Regions from separate parts of the Homo sapiens genome. Here region 1 is linked to region 2. The links are contacts of gene promoters, found by promoter capture Hi-C in human tissues and cell types (Jung and others, 2019). All regions are on one chromosome and are shown on one strand. Each heading gives the region's core, a stretch centred on a gene start or on the middle of the fragment in contact. The rest is flanking DNA. Distances are from core to core; before and after follow the strand shown. Region 1 overlaps NRXN3 (neurexin 3). Region 2 holds the start of VIPAS39 (VPS33B interacting protein, apical-basolateral polarity regulator, spe-39 homolog).

Region 1 (6,269 bases), core at 2,712-5,211, 1.1 Mb after region 2:
GGAATGGGATCATGGGGGACCCAGAAGGAGGAAGCAGAACTGGAAGATGTTTCCATTCTGTGAAAGTGGCTTTTGGCTTTGAGGCAGCAACAGTAATATTTCATGTCTTCCGTGGTGTCTCCTACCTTTAAATGTCAGTCTCTGCAGCTGCCTTATCTCCTGTAGCACATTTCAATTAGGTATTCCAAATTATACTCTTTTCTTCCAGGACAAATATGCCAGAGGTGATATTTACTGTTACAGCAGCATTTAAAATACTTAGGGGGAAAAAATCCTAGTGAATAGCAATTTCTCCCTTATAATAATAATAAAGCACAATAATAATGGAGAGAGGAGGTGAATTCTGGCTTTGATGCCAATAACTGGCTGACTTAAAGTGAACATCTTTTGTCTCCGCCCTCTTTTGTCCCCCTCCTCCTATTCCCGCCTCAGTGTGAAGGTTATAGTGTTTGGCTCTGTCAAGAGCAACCTCACACATCTTCTTCACTGGAGGCTCACAAATGCTCCTCAGAATGTCTATTTAACTATCTCTAGGTAGGACTGGGCTCTGACTGGGCTCCTACTTCACCCATTACCTGTTTCTTCCTTTGTCCTGAGAATGTTTGCATGAAGCCAGAATCTCTGTTTGTTTAGAAATTTACCAGGCACCACTGCTTACTCCTCACCTATGGGACATTGTAGGTCCTGATGGAACACCCCGGCCTCCTCTCTAGGAGGTATATGGGTTAGAAACTTATGTATTGTACCTTTCCTTCTTGGAATCAAGTCCTTGGCCTGGTAATGAAGGTCCTTCGATCTGGTCTGCATTTTCCAGCTCCATCTCCTACTAATCTTTATATCCTTATCTACTGTTTCCCTAGGCTGTTGTCTTCACGGCCGCCATGGTAGGTTTTGCCTATCATCCCAAACCTTGTGCAGGCCTACCACAGTACTTGACATATGGTGGGGGTCTCAGTCAGTATTCTCCCCTATATTTAGAACCCTTCCACTAGATCTTGTCTTCATATTTTTGATTCCTGCTCAGGGATCAGATTATGTTCCATGTCCTCCACTGAGCCTTTTCTGACCTCCTCAGCGCACTCAGTGCCGTTCCCTCTCTGAATTTCTAAAGTGCTCAGCAGCAGCAGCACTCATTTGGCACTTGGTATATACTATCTTATGCTATTTTGTATGACCATATGTTGTCTATACAACTACATTATAAGCACCTGATAGGGATAACTGTGCCCTGTGTGTTTTTCCTATCCCTTTGATTCTAAGATAGTTCCTTGAACATTGAAGATGCTCAGTTAATATTCATTTATTAAGTAGATAGATCAAGGAGTAAATGAAAGCAAGGATCCTAAGAAGCCTGCCTTTTGGTGCCAATCTATTCAATTTGGAATTCACAAACTTACCTAAAACAAGGCCTTTCAATTTCCTGTTTCCCCTGTAAACAGAGCTCTACCACCAGGATTTCTCAGAAGCTCTTTCTCCACACTGAACCCTAAAACTGAAGGTTCAGGTAGAGAGCTTTTCCAGTGTGAGAGAATTTTTAAAGCATCTGGGGTTTGGCACATCCAGTGCTTTGAAAATCAAGGTGTCTTGATCATTGGGTGAAGGGGATTAGAACAGCAGGCTGTGTTTTCAAGTTCAAGTCCATAAGCAGACAGGAATAGAATCCCACAAGAGTTTGTTCTGTCTCTGCCATTTACTAGTTAATCTCTCTATGCCTCAATTTCCCCATTTGTAAAATGGATTTAATAATGGCTGTCTACCTTATAAGGTTGCTATGAGGTGCCAGTGTGATAATAAACGTAAAAGTACTTTGAATATTGCAAAACACTGTATGAATGTCAGGAATTAGGCAGGCAACAACTATTTCTTGGGGGTTTGTTCTGCATGTAGCCCTGCACTATGTGTAGATAGAGGCCTCTGTACATTACAGAAGACTGGCAGAGGCATTGGGGATTCATCATGGCTGGAATTCTGGTTCTCAGATAGATGAAAGCTGGAAAAAGTATTATAGCCTAGCAATCACATCTGAAAGGTTGGCAGCAACAATTGAGTCAGAGAAGACGGGAGGTGAAGTATTGGCAAAAATTTGACCCTGGTCATTCTTTGAACACTTCAGATTTCCACAGATTCTATCCCTTTAACATTTCTGAACGTTATGATTTTGCTTCCTCCCCACACTGGCAGCTCTGCCTCAATGAAACCGTGTTGCTTTTTTGGTTGATCAATTGTGCCCAACTTCCTGATCATACTTGTCCTGAGAGCCTGTGTTAAGCTCATGCCGGCTCTCCCACCCCGCCCCCAACGCCGGCCAAAAAAAAGACTCTCTAAAAACAGGTGCCCCCGATGATCTCACACTGCTGCTGGCATTGGCAGCAGCCCAGAAGGGCCAAATGGTGACTTCAGGTCCAGGGAGGCTACTGTCCTCAGCTCTGTTTTCATGTAAATGTCGCTCCTGCTGAAAGGAAGTGGATGCAAAAAAATATCTGCTATGGAAGCAGAACTACCCCAGACTAAAATGTTGGTTTTTTTTTTTTTCTCTCCCCCTTTTCTTTTCCTTCAAGTTTTCCATGTGGCATCAGCAGCTGAGTAAGGGAAAGCTAAGAGGTTTAAGTGTGCTGGGGCTGGGTGGGCTAGATTAATAACCCAAAGCCTTCCAAGCTGGCGGTGCTGGGTGAGACAGGCCAACCAGAAAGCGTTAGGTTATGGGGAGCCCTGGCCACAGAGCCAGACCCTACCAGGGTGGAAGGTGAAGGAGCAGCGAGCTCTGCGTGCTTGCCCCGAGCCCCCACCTTCCTTCCTTCCTCCTCCCTCTGGTTTCTTTCCTCCCATTTTATCGAGTCCCTCTGAGATGGCTGCGCACCAGTGGCTCCAGCCTCTGACCGTTGCTGCCCTCTGCTGGGAAGAAAGCTTTACTCGGTGTGGAAAGTGCTAAGCTCTACCAGGGACCAGCTTAATGCAGACCAAGTCCACAGTCTGTGGCTAGTGTGTGATTTGGCCCAGAGGAAGGAAGGACAATTCAGAAAACCCTTGCACCACAGTGTTTCCCTAGTGGTTTCAGGTGGGGGCAGGACTTTGGAATCTATTAGGGAAGGATTGCTTGAATCCTCAGAGTTCTCTGTTCAAGAGGAACATCCCTGGGAGAGGAGCCTCCTGGCTCCTCTTTACCTGGGTCAGACATGATGTATGGAGACTCCACCATGGATGACCCTTAAATATGATGGATGGCTTTAGTTACAGGACACAATTCTTTCTCAAGGGAAGGTGACCAAAAGAAGTTGGGTCTTGAAGGGGCTGCAGGATGGGCCTGGAAGTCTCTTGGCTCTAAAGGAACCATCATAGAATGGGGATTCTGAGCAACCAGGAAGCAGCAGAAAAATATGCAAAGCCAGATGGGAGTGGGGAATATTGCCCATTAATGGGCAAGAGTACATAGAAAGGTAGATAATAAACTGGCTTCACCACTTCTCAACTTTCCCCAGAGCTGGCTGTGCCAGTAAACTGTGCTCAGCTGGCTTTGGATGAGAGAAGGACAAGAGGGTGCCTATCTCCAGCATGGCTGTGGGGTCGCCCTGCTCCATCTCTGGATCTTCAGCCTAGAGTGCAGCCCAGCCAAACAAGAGCGATGACCTCACTGACCACATGTAATTCTGCTTGAGGGATTTATTTTCTTCCATGAGCTCCTGCCAAGACTCTTGGTTAAAGCTAATGGGGCTCCCCCAGCCAGTGAGTGTCTCCTAGTTATATGTGTAAACAACGCCAGGCAGGAAATAGGTTTCCTGTTCTTAATGGGCTTGTTAAACCTCTTATCGAGTGGGGTTTAAATGGCTTTATTATGAATAATAATAATAGTAAATAAACATTATTATTATTAGTAGTAGAAAAATTATGATGTCAGCCCTGACTACCCCTTCTCATTTTAATCTTGCCAACGTGGAGGTCTTTGGCCTCTAAGTGCACAGGAATATGGTGAGTGACACTGGGACTTATAACTGGAGAAGATGGCAGAATTCATCTTCGTTGCCTGCAGCTTTCCAATCCTGAGCCCTTTTCCACTTTCATCGTGTTTCCATCTCCATCATTCCTTTCATTCAGGGTTTTCATGATCTTATTCTATCAGAGAAGATAGAACTACACATCCCTCTCCTTCTCAGTTTTATTTAGCATTGAAAGCCATGGACAGAGGTTCTGAGGTTAAATTGAGGTATCGGGTAGAGGGGATTTTGGAGAGAGCAGTGGATGCTGGTAGGGGAGCTCAGTTGGAAGTGGGGCTCATGTTCTGATCTTCAGTGCCGAATGTCTGTGTCCCTCCCTCAGATTTACATGTTGAAACGTAATCACCAATGTGATGGTATTAGGAGGGGGGCCTTTTGGGAGGTTAGTAAGTCATGAGTGCTTTGGGATTAGTGCTCTTATAAAATAGGCCCAAGGGAGCTTGTTCACCCCTTCCACCATGGAAAGACAGAAGAAGAACTAGAAGCCACCATCTATGAACCAGGAGGTAGCCCTCACCTGATGCCAAATCTTCCAGCACCTTAATCTTGGACTTCCAAGCCCCCAGAATTGTCAGATACAAATTTTTGTTGTTTATAAGCTACCCAGTTTATGGCATTTTGTTGTAGCCACCTGAACAGATTGAGATATCCAGTTTATAGCTGGAACTGGAGGTATACCAGGTATCCCAGACTTTGGTAATTTATGTATCAGGTTCACTATTTTCACCATAACTCCCTACAACAGTATTGATTTTCTTTACACCGATTATCTTGTTTGACTTAAGTAGATTTGGCATCATCTTACAAGCAATATGTCTTTGAAATCCTGGGTTCAATGTGTTAGCCAGGTTTTTTACTGACTGCATATTGAAATGAATATCTAAGAGCTAAATATTTTTTCCTAAAGTTCATCATGTGGCAAATGTGTCACACCCTCCAGGGAAAACATACCACAACATCTGGAGACACTGCTATAGGGTAGTGGTTCTTAAACTTTAGTGGGCATGAGAAACACTGGCAGAGCTTCTACCAGAAACACTGGTAGATAGCTGTGCTCTTCCCCAGAGAATCTGATTCAGCAGGTCTGTGGTGGGAAATATGACTTTGCAGGTTTTTTTTTTTTTTTTTTTTTTTTGAGACAGGGTCTCATTCTGTCACCCAGGCTGGAGTGCAGTGGCGCGGTCTTGGCTCACTGCCAGCTCTGCCTCCCAGGTTCACACCATTCTTCTGCCTCAGCCTCCTGAGTAGCTGGGACTACAGGCGCCAGCCACCACGCCTGGCTAATTTTTTGTATTTTTAGTAGAGATGGGGTTTCACCGTGTTAGCCAGGATGGTCTCGATCTCCTGATCTCAGGTGATCTTCCCGCCTCGGCCTCCCAAAGTGCTGGGATTGCAGGCATGAGCCACTGTGCCCGGCCTTTTCTTTATTTTTTGAGACAGAGTCTCATTCTGTCACCCAGGCTGGAGTGCAGCAGCGTGGTCTCGGCTCACTGCAAGCTCCGCCTCCCGGGTTCACGCCATTCTCCTGCCTCAGCCTTCTGAGTAGCTGGGACTACAGGTGCCCACTACCACGCCCAGCTAATTTTTTGTATTTTTAGTAGAGACGGGGTTTCACCATGTTAGCAAGGGTGGTCTCAATCTCCTGACCTCGTGATCCACCCATCTCGGCCTCCCAAAGTGCTGGGATTACAGGGGTGAGCCACCGCGTCCGGCCGCCTTTTATTTTTTTTTGAGATGGAGTCTCCCTCTGTCACCCAGGCTGGAGTGCAGTGGCACAATCTCAGCTCACTGCAACCTCCACCTTCTGGGTTCAAGCAATTCTGCTTCAGCCTTCAAGTAGCTGAGACTACAGGCACCCGCCCCCACACCCAGCTAATTTTTGTATTTTTAGTAGAGATGGGGTTTGACCATGCTGGCCAGGCTGGTCTCAAACTCCTGATCTCAAGTGATCTACCCGCCTCGGCCTCCCAAAGTGTCCAGAACTCCTAGACTCAAGCGATCCTCCTGCCTCAGCCTCCTGAGTAGCTGCGACTACGGGCTTGCACCCGGAAACTGCAGTTCTAACAGTTGCTCAAGAGATGTTGATATCCAGGGGCCACACTGGCAGTGGCACTGGCCTGGAGAATAAGGGCCTGTTCTCCATTTCCACATGTGAAAATTTCCTCATTTGAAAATGGGGATAATGTGTGCTGTATAAAATGAAATAATTTTTTCTTGGTGCCAATCTGTCTATGCAATGGAATGTTTGTGTCTCCCCAAAATTCACATGTGGAAGCCCTA
Region 2 (6,670 bases), core at 1,748-4,247:
GCAGAGGTTGCGGTGAGCAGAGATCGCACCATTGCACTCCAGCCTGGGCAACAAGAGCGAAACTCCGTCTCCAAAAAAAAAAAAAAAAAGTGTCAGACGTGGGGACCCTACAACAGAGCTAGGGCATTCAGCATAGGTATGTATTAAAAGCAACAGTGCAAGGCAGGCAAATGTTATAAGAATCTATCAAAAAACTTTGCTGAATACACAAGGAAGAGCAATCAGAACATGCACAAAACAGACAAAAATTGCATTCACATTTTCAACAAATACTTATTGAGCACCATCTCTGAGGCACTGTTCTAGGCTCTGGGAATACTACAGTGAATGAACAAATATTCCACCCTCATGTATGCTTTTTAAATGCCTGAAAGAACGGAAAGCAAAGCAATTAAAAGAAGCAGAATTATCTCACCTAAATCTTCAAATTATGACTATTTTATTAACAACTGTTGGCCAAAATTTGAGAAATGAGGGGATGGCCAAGAAAAGCAAGTATATAAAGAAGTAGTCAAAAGACCACAAGTCCCTGTTATAACTACTATAAAATTCAATTTTGCCCTGCAAAAACAAGTTTTGCCCTAGAATTACAAACTAGGCAGGGCACAGTGGCTCATATCTGTAATCTCAGCACTTTGGGAGACTGAGGTGGGAGGATCACCTGAGCCCAAGTTCAAGACTAGCCTGGGCAACATTGTAAAACTGTCTCTACAAAAAAATTTAAAAAACAAAACAAAAAACTAGCTGGACATGGTGACGTAGTCCCAGCTGCTTGGGAGGCTAAGGTGGGAGGATCACCTGAGCTTGGGACGTCGAGGCTGCTATGAGCTGAGATTACACCACTGCACTCCAGCCTGGGTGACACAGTGAGACCCTCCCTATCTCCAAATAAGGAAACAGAATTACAAAGTAAACTATCAATGCCAACAGGATTAGAATGAAAACTATGATTTAAGCCAAGGACTGGGTATAAAACTCCCACAGCACCAAAAATAACTGTAAAGGCTAAACAGCATCAAGTTCTAAAAGAACCATTTGCTTTTCCTTTTAATAGCACCTTCATCAATAAAAGCTTGAGAAAAGCCTTGTCATGGTAGTCCTGTTGAGGCTTTTGATAGCCCTTAAAGATACTCTACTGTTACTTCCTGACTTTGTTTTCAACTCAGGGGATATAGGGATAGCAAGGGTATTGTGGGGATTTTCTACTATCTGGTCCCTTCTCACGGCAGACATCACTAATTGATTTCTACTGGTACAGGGTTGTTTAAAAATCCTTTTCTGTATTTAATTTTAGGGAGATAAACCAAAAATGCTGGCAGACACCATGAAATCATCCCACACAGACATTGTAGTCAGGCAACCTTGAGTTCAAATCCTGGTTTCTCTTAATTCTGAGCAAAGTGGATAAATGACTTTACTTCTAAGCCTTGGAGAAAATTATATCCTATCTCACAGGGTTGCAGGGAACATCTATAAAAGTGTCTAGCAGAAAGTAAATACTAAATGTTATTTCCTTTTAATATGGAATATCATACTGACATTTTTCTGTCTTGGTTTTCCCGTCTGTTAAATGGGCATAACAGATGACCTACCTTAGAAATGGTTCTGAGGAGTAAACCAGTTAATACATGTAAAGTGCTTAGTGCCTGACCCAAAATTAACACTCAATAGTAACTTTTATTATTAATACATCATCCTGGTACCTTGGGAAAAGCTAAAAAAGAAAATATTTTTTAGCAATCCTAAAGATTAAAAAAAATACAAAAATTCTGAGTAGCCACAAATGCTGAAGATGTGTATAGAACATATAAATGTCTCTGGCACACATGTCAGTTCATAAATCACTCTGTCATTCGTTTGATCCTCAGAACAATCTTGTAAGGTAGGCCTGGGAGATTCCATTTCCATGTTACTCATGGGGAAAGTGAGGCACAAAAGAGTTCAGTATCAAAGCCACTTTGTTAAATGCTCCTATTTCAAATTACAATCCAGGCTTTCTGGCTCCTAGACCATTTCTAGTGTCTTGCATGGTCCTTCTACCTATTTTTCACTTTCCAGAAAACTAGAGATCATTCCTTCACTATAGTAATTATCTACAGATAGACATAGAATGTGTCTAACAAACACAATAATCTACCAGAGGATTTCTGGAATCTTTTTAACCATGCAATGGCAGTAGACAACTGCCATCAATTTGTATTTATAACGCCAAATGAGAAGCTAGGTTTACTTGGCAAGTATAGATAATGATCTAGTGGCTCTAGAGTTATAAAGTAATCAGGTACGATTGTCACTCTTAAGAGTGACAGGTGCTTCAACATGATTTAAAATACTTCAGAGGTTTGTCTTTATCGTCTCTTGTTTACTGACAGCCCACAAGGCAGGGTGAGAGACCTCAGGGGAGAACAGGAACTTTACAAAGGAAAACAGAAGAATCAGCAAGAAAACCACAACATGCTCCCTGCCTCAGAAAACTCCAAAAACCACCTACTGAGAAGTCAGACTTGGTTTCAATTATCTTCCGAGCCAGGAAGATACAGGTGAGGCTTGTGAACTGAGACCAGGGAACAAGAGTTAAGCTAGGATGACTCTACGGGTGAACGTCCAGGAAGCCATGGATCTACCGCAGTCGTCAGAGCCCAGCGGATCCCTGGCAGAGTTAAATGCTCGTTCTGAACCAAATGTCCGCTTCCGAACCAATCGCTGGTGCTCACTCGCAGCCCCAGTCCCAAGCGTACTCCAGCGCCCAAGGGTCGCCCTGACTGAAAGAAGAGAATCAGGCCTGTAGTCATAGGGTGTAGGGATGCCTCCTAGAAGAGGGGAAAAGATCAAGATGCGGAGAGGCTGGATCCAGCCAGATACGCGACCCAAGGGGCTTGGGACACCCTCACCTCTTCCGCACAGAGCCCTCCCTCTCAGGACAGCGCCAGCCTCCGCCGCCGCTGGACCAGCCCTTCTATTCAGGCTGTGCAGCTTAGAGAAGGGGGCGGAAGGGAATAATCGTAGGGCGGAGAGAAAACACGAATAACGAGACCGCAGGGCATGCTGGAAGTCGTAGTTTCTTCTGCCTCTGCTGTCAGGCGCTGTCCCGACGAACCACAAGGCTTCTTGACTACAGCCCCCAGAAACCCCAAGCACCGTGCTAGGTCATTTCCTCTCCTTTCCGCGAGACCTTCCGCGGTTATCCAGCGAGTCACGTAGCAAGACTACAATTCCCATGAGGCTCAGCAAGGGCGATTTAGGGTCCAGGGAAGCAATGAGACGTGTTCTTTGTTTTCCTATGGGTGAGGAATGGTTGTATGAGCAGTTGGGTTTCGGGACGCTTTTTGGGGAGAACCCGATGGAGTCTGAAGGATCTCTAAATCAGGCGGAACCCACGGTGCGGCGAGTTGGGACGGAAGTAACCGGTGGGAGTGGGGAGGAGCCGGAAGTTAAGGAGGGGAGGGGGTGGAGGGAAAAGCAAGCCAGGAGGTGCTTGCGGCCGCTTCTAGTAGTTTCCAGGCGCTGCCGGGCGGCTGGCACTAAGCGGTCCTGAGGCTGTGGCTACGGCTGCTCCGGAGCTGGTGGCGCCGCGATAGGAGAGCCGATGGCCAAGTGGGGTGAGGGAGACCCACGCTGGATCGTGGAGGAGCGGGCGGACGCCACCAACGTCAACAACTGGCACTGGTGAGGGCCAGAAAAGCAGGCCGGCCTTGGGAGACCTGCGGCCGGGCCAGGGTTTCAGGGTTCCTAGAACCTCGGCCCGGACAGAGCTGGGGCTGAGGTAGCCCTGTCCGGAGATGGGGGTGGGTCCTTCCTGTGGCAGGGGTCCGTAGCCCCAGGCCTCTCCACTCCGCGGTCACCTTCTCAGTGTTTGAGGGGAGGGAGATGGACGTGGAGGGCTGCGCCCCAGAGGAGGGTTGTCAGAGAGACTAGGAGATAACGCCCTGGCTGCTGCATCCAGCCCGAGCAGGGAGGTGCTTATTACACGTGGCCAGAGGAGTCACTGAGACTGGAACCTCCTTTGATTGTGTTGGGAGATAGCTGTGAAAGGCCTAAGGCCAGGGGTCTGTAATTCCTATTTTGCGGCCTGCGGTAAAATTAAAAGTCATTCATAGGGGACCGCTGCAGCGGTCCCGCGGGAGATTGAGAACGTGTTGTGCAGGTGCTCAGAGCTCAGATAGCTGCGGCCTCTCACCCGGAACTATCAGGTCGGGTGTGTTGGAACTCCAGGTTGCCGAGCAGCCGTGGTTTTATAACCTGACCGTTCTTAAAATAACTGCCCTCCTTCATGAAATCTTCCCAAAGTAATATTAGTTTCCTTATTTTTGAATTCCACTGAACTTTTTTCGTAATGTTTGTATTGTACCGTTACTTTGTTGCAGCCTTTTTTGCTGTTGTTTTCTCTAATAGTTGATAAGTAGGAAGGCAGATAGTGATGTTTCTTTTCCATATCTCACTTTGTATTCTCTCTTCTTAACATGCAGAGTACTTGACCTAATTTTTGTTGTTTGTTTTGAAGCCCTGGACTTAACGTTTTTGTGGCCATCTAGGGGACAGTGAATGTGTAGGAAGTTTATAATGCAAGTGCGAATCTGATAGGTCAGAACACCGTGCCAATGAGGTCAGGGTTATTGGTTTAATCCTTTCTGGGCCTTTTAGCTAAGTACTATTCTTTCATGGTCCAGTCTGTGTTCCTGATCTCAGCAATATGTGCAGTTTTCCACTTGGTCAAATGGGGGCGCCATGTTAAAGTATCAAGTATTCCCCCGCACCATCATGCCGAGAAAGGAGAGCATAATTTTCCATTGAGTTTATACCATTTTCTACAGCAGCTGTCTTTGTTGACAGTGTGCAACCCCTTGTCTTCCTAAAAAAGAATGACATGTTTGTGGACATACTGGAGTGCGACTGGGAGTTTTTGTGTTCTTTTCAAACTATTTGTCAGGCCTCCTTTAACCTCGTATTCTCTTGCATAGAGCAGCGTATCCTCCGTTTGACTGCTGGTTCATAGCTCTGTTTCTGCTTTGCAGGACGGAGAGAGATGCTTCAAATTGGTCCACGGATAAGCTGAAAACACTGTTCCTGGCAGTGCAGGTTCAAAATGAAGAAGGCAAGTGTGAGGTGACGGAAGTGAGTAAGCTTGATGGAGAGGCATCCATTAACAATCGCAAAGGGAAACTTATCTTCTTTTATGAATGGAGCGTCAAACTAAACTGGACAGGTAAGTCTAAGCTGGGCTGTCAGAGAGATTAACTGTGTTTTGTTTAACCTGTTAAGTAGCTGGAGAGAACAGTTTTGAGGAGTTACAGACCTTGAAGGGAGAAGGCAGATGTTGCTGCTTTGGAGTCCTATGTAAAGCAGTATCGAGTCCTGGAATTTCTTTGCCATTGTGGGATGCTAAATGGATTTCCTGTGTCTGGGTCTCATAAGTCCCATCCATGAAGTGGCCGGGCCACTGCATCTTTGGGCCTTGGTCTTTGTTGGGACACCTACGATGATATTTCTTCAGACTAGCTACATGTATCTTGTGAGTGATTTAAAAGGAGGAAGGAGAGGATTTTTTTGGTCTTGATCTTTGTGCACTGTCTTCAGTGTGAATCTTAACAGATTAAACCACTGCGCTAATGAAGCTTGTGTGTGACAGTAATTTGGGGCTGTTTTATCTATCTTCTAGTTTTATGTCCCTTGTGTATGACATTAGGAAAAAATTGAGGTCATGCGTATGACCGTTTTGGACAGTCCTGACTGTCGGGAGCCTGAATGTAAAAAGGCACTAAAGCTAAGGGAGTATGAGATAGCTACTGTCTGTGTATGGGGCAAAGCATGAAATTTGTGCTTTGATAAACATTTCCGAAGTGAACAGTCATATCATAAAGAAGGGTGCAAGTAGATCTATCTGTCCATGATTTTTGTTAATTTGTTTTTAAAGTACACTCGAAGCATAGTAGTGTGGAAGGAATCTTCGGTGTCATCTTGCTCAGACCTCCTTTTTTTTTTTTTAGACAGAGTTTTGCTCGTCACCCAGGCTGGAGTGCAGTGGCACGATCTTGGCTCACTGCAACCTCCACTTCCCGGGTTTAACCAGTTCTCCTGCCTCAGCCTCCCAAGTAGGATTACAGGTGCCCGCCACCACGCCCGGCTAATTTTGTATTTTTATTAGAGATGGGTTTCACCATGTTGGCCAGGCTGGTCTCGAACTGTGTCTGGCCGACGCTTTTTTTTTTTAATATAGGGACTAAAAATTGGTAGCATAGTTTTGTGCACATTAAATGGTAAGAAATAGATAAATATAGGCCGGGCGTGGTGGCTAACGCCTGTAATCCCAGCACTTTGGGAGGCCAAGGTGGGCGGATCACGAGGTCAGGAGATCAAGACCATCCTGGCTGACACAGTGAAACCCCGTCTCTACTAAAAATACAAAAAATTAGCCCGGCGTGGTGGCATGTGCCTGTAGTCCCAGCTACTCGGGAGGCTGAGGCAGGAGAATCGCTTGAACCCAGGAGGCGGAGGTTGCAGTGAGCTGGGATCGCACCGTTGCACTCCAGCCTGGGCAACAGAGTGAGACTCCATCTCAAAAAAAATAAAAAATAGGTGAATACTACAATAAATATGGTGCTTTACCATGAAAAAGACCTGAAGTTTATTTGTGAAAGTGGGCATCAAAGCCAGGCGCGGCGGCTCACGCCTG

The links. The method cuts DNA at HindIII sites, captures the fragments that hold promoters and counts their contacts. A contact is called where the count stands out against the background at its distance.
Region 1: a contact is called between a fragment that was not itself captured here and the fragment with the promoter of VIPAS39 in region 2, in 1 of the 25 tissues and cell types used here (lymphoblastoid cells).

What each region holds. Positions count from the first base shown.
Region 1 is chr14:78,563,862-78,570,130 of GRCh38, forward strand. The region is part of intron 4 of NRXN3 (neurexin 3); the gene reads left to right. Among named protein-coding and RNA genes, the nearest start is that of NRXN3-AS2, 140 kb to the right of the region's middle. The HindIII fragment of the contact is 7,746 bases long and covers 89-6,269 here.
Region 2 is chr14:77,454,604-77,461,273 of GRCh38, forward strand. It overlaps VIPAS39 (VPS33B interacting protein, apical-basolateral polarity regulator, spe-39 homolog), which reads right to left and starts at 2,998. Exons shown (of 20, transcript NM_001193315.2): 1 at 2,892-2,998. AHSA1 (activator of HSP90 ATPase activity 1) reads left to right here and starts at 3,490. Exons shown (of 9, transcript NM_012111.3): 1 at 3,490-3,666; 2 at 5,013-5,203. The coding sequence starts at 3,587. RefSeq lists enhancers at 2,796-3,318, 2,937-3,396, 3,319-3,841, 3,567-3,746. The HindIII fragment of the contact is 5,050 bases long and covers 317-5,366 here.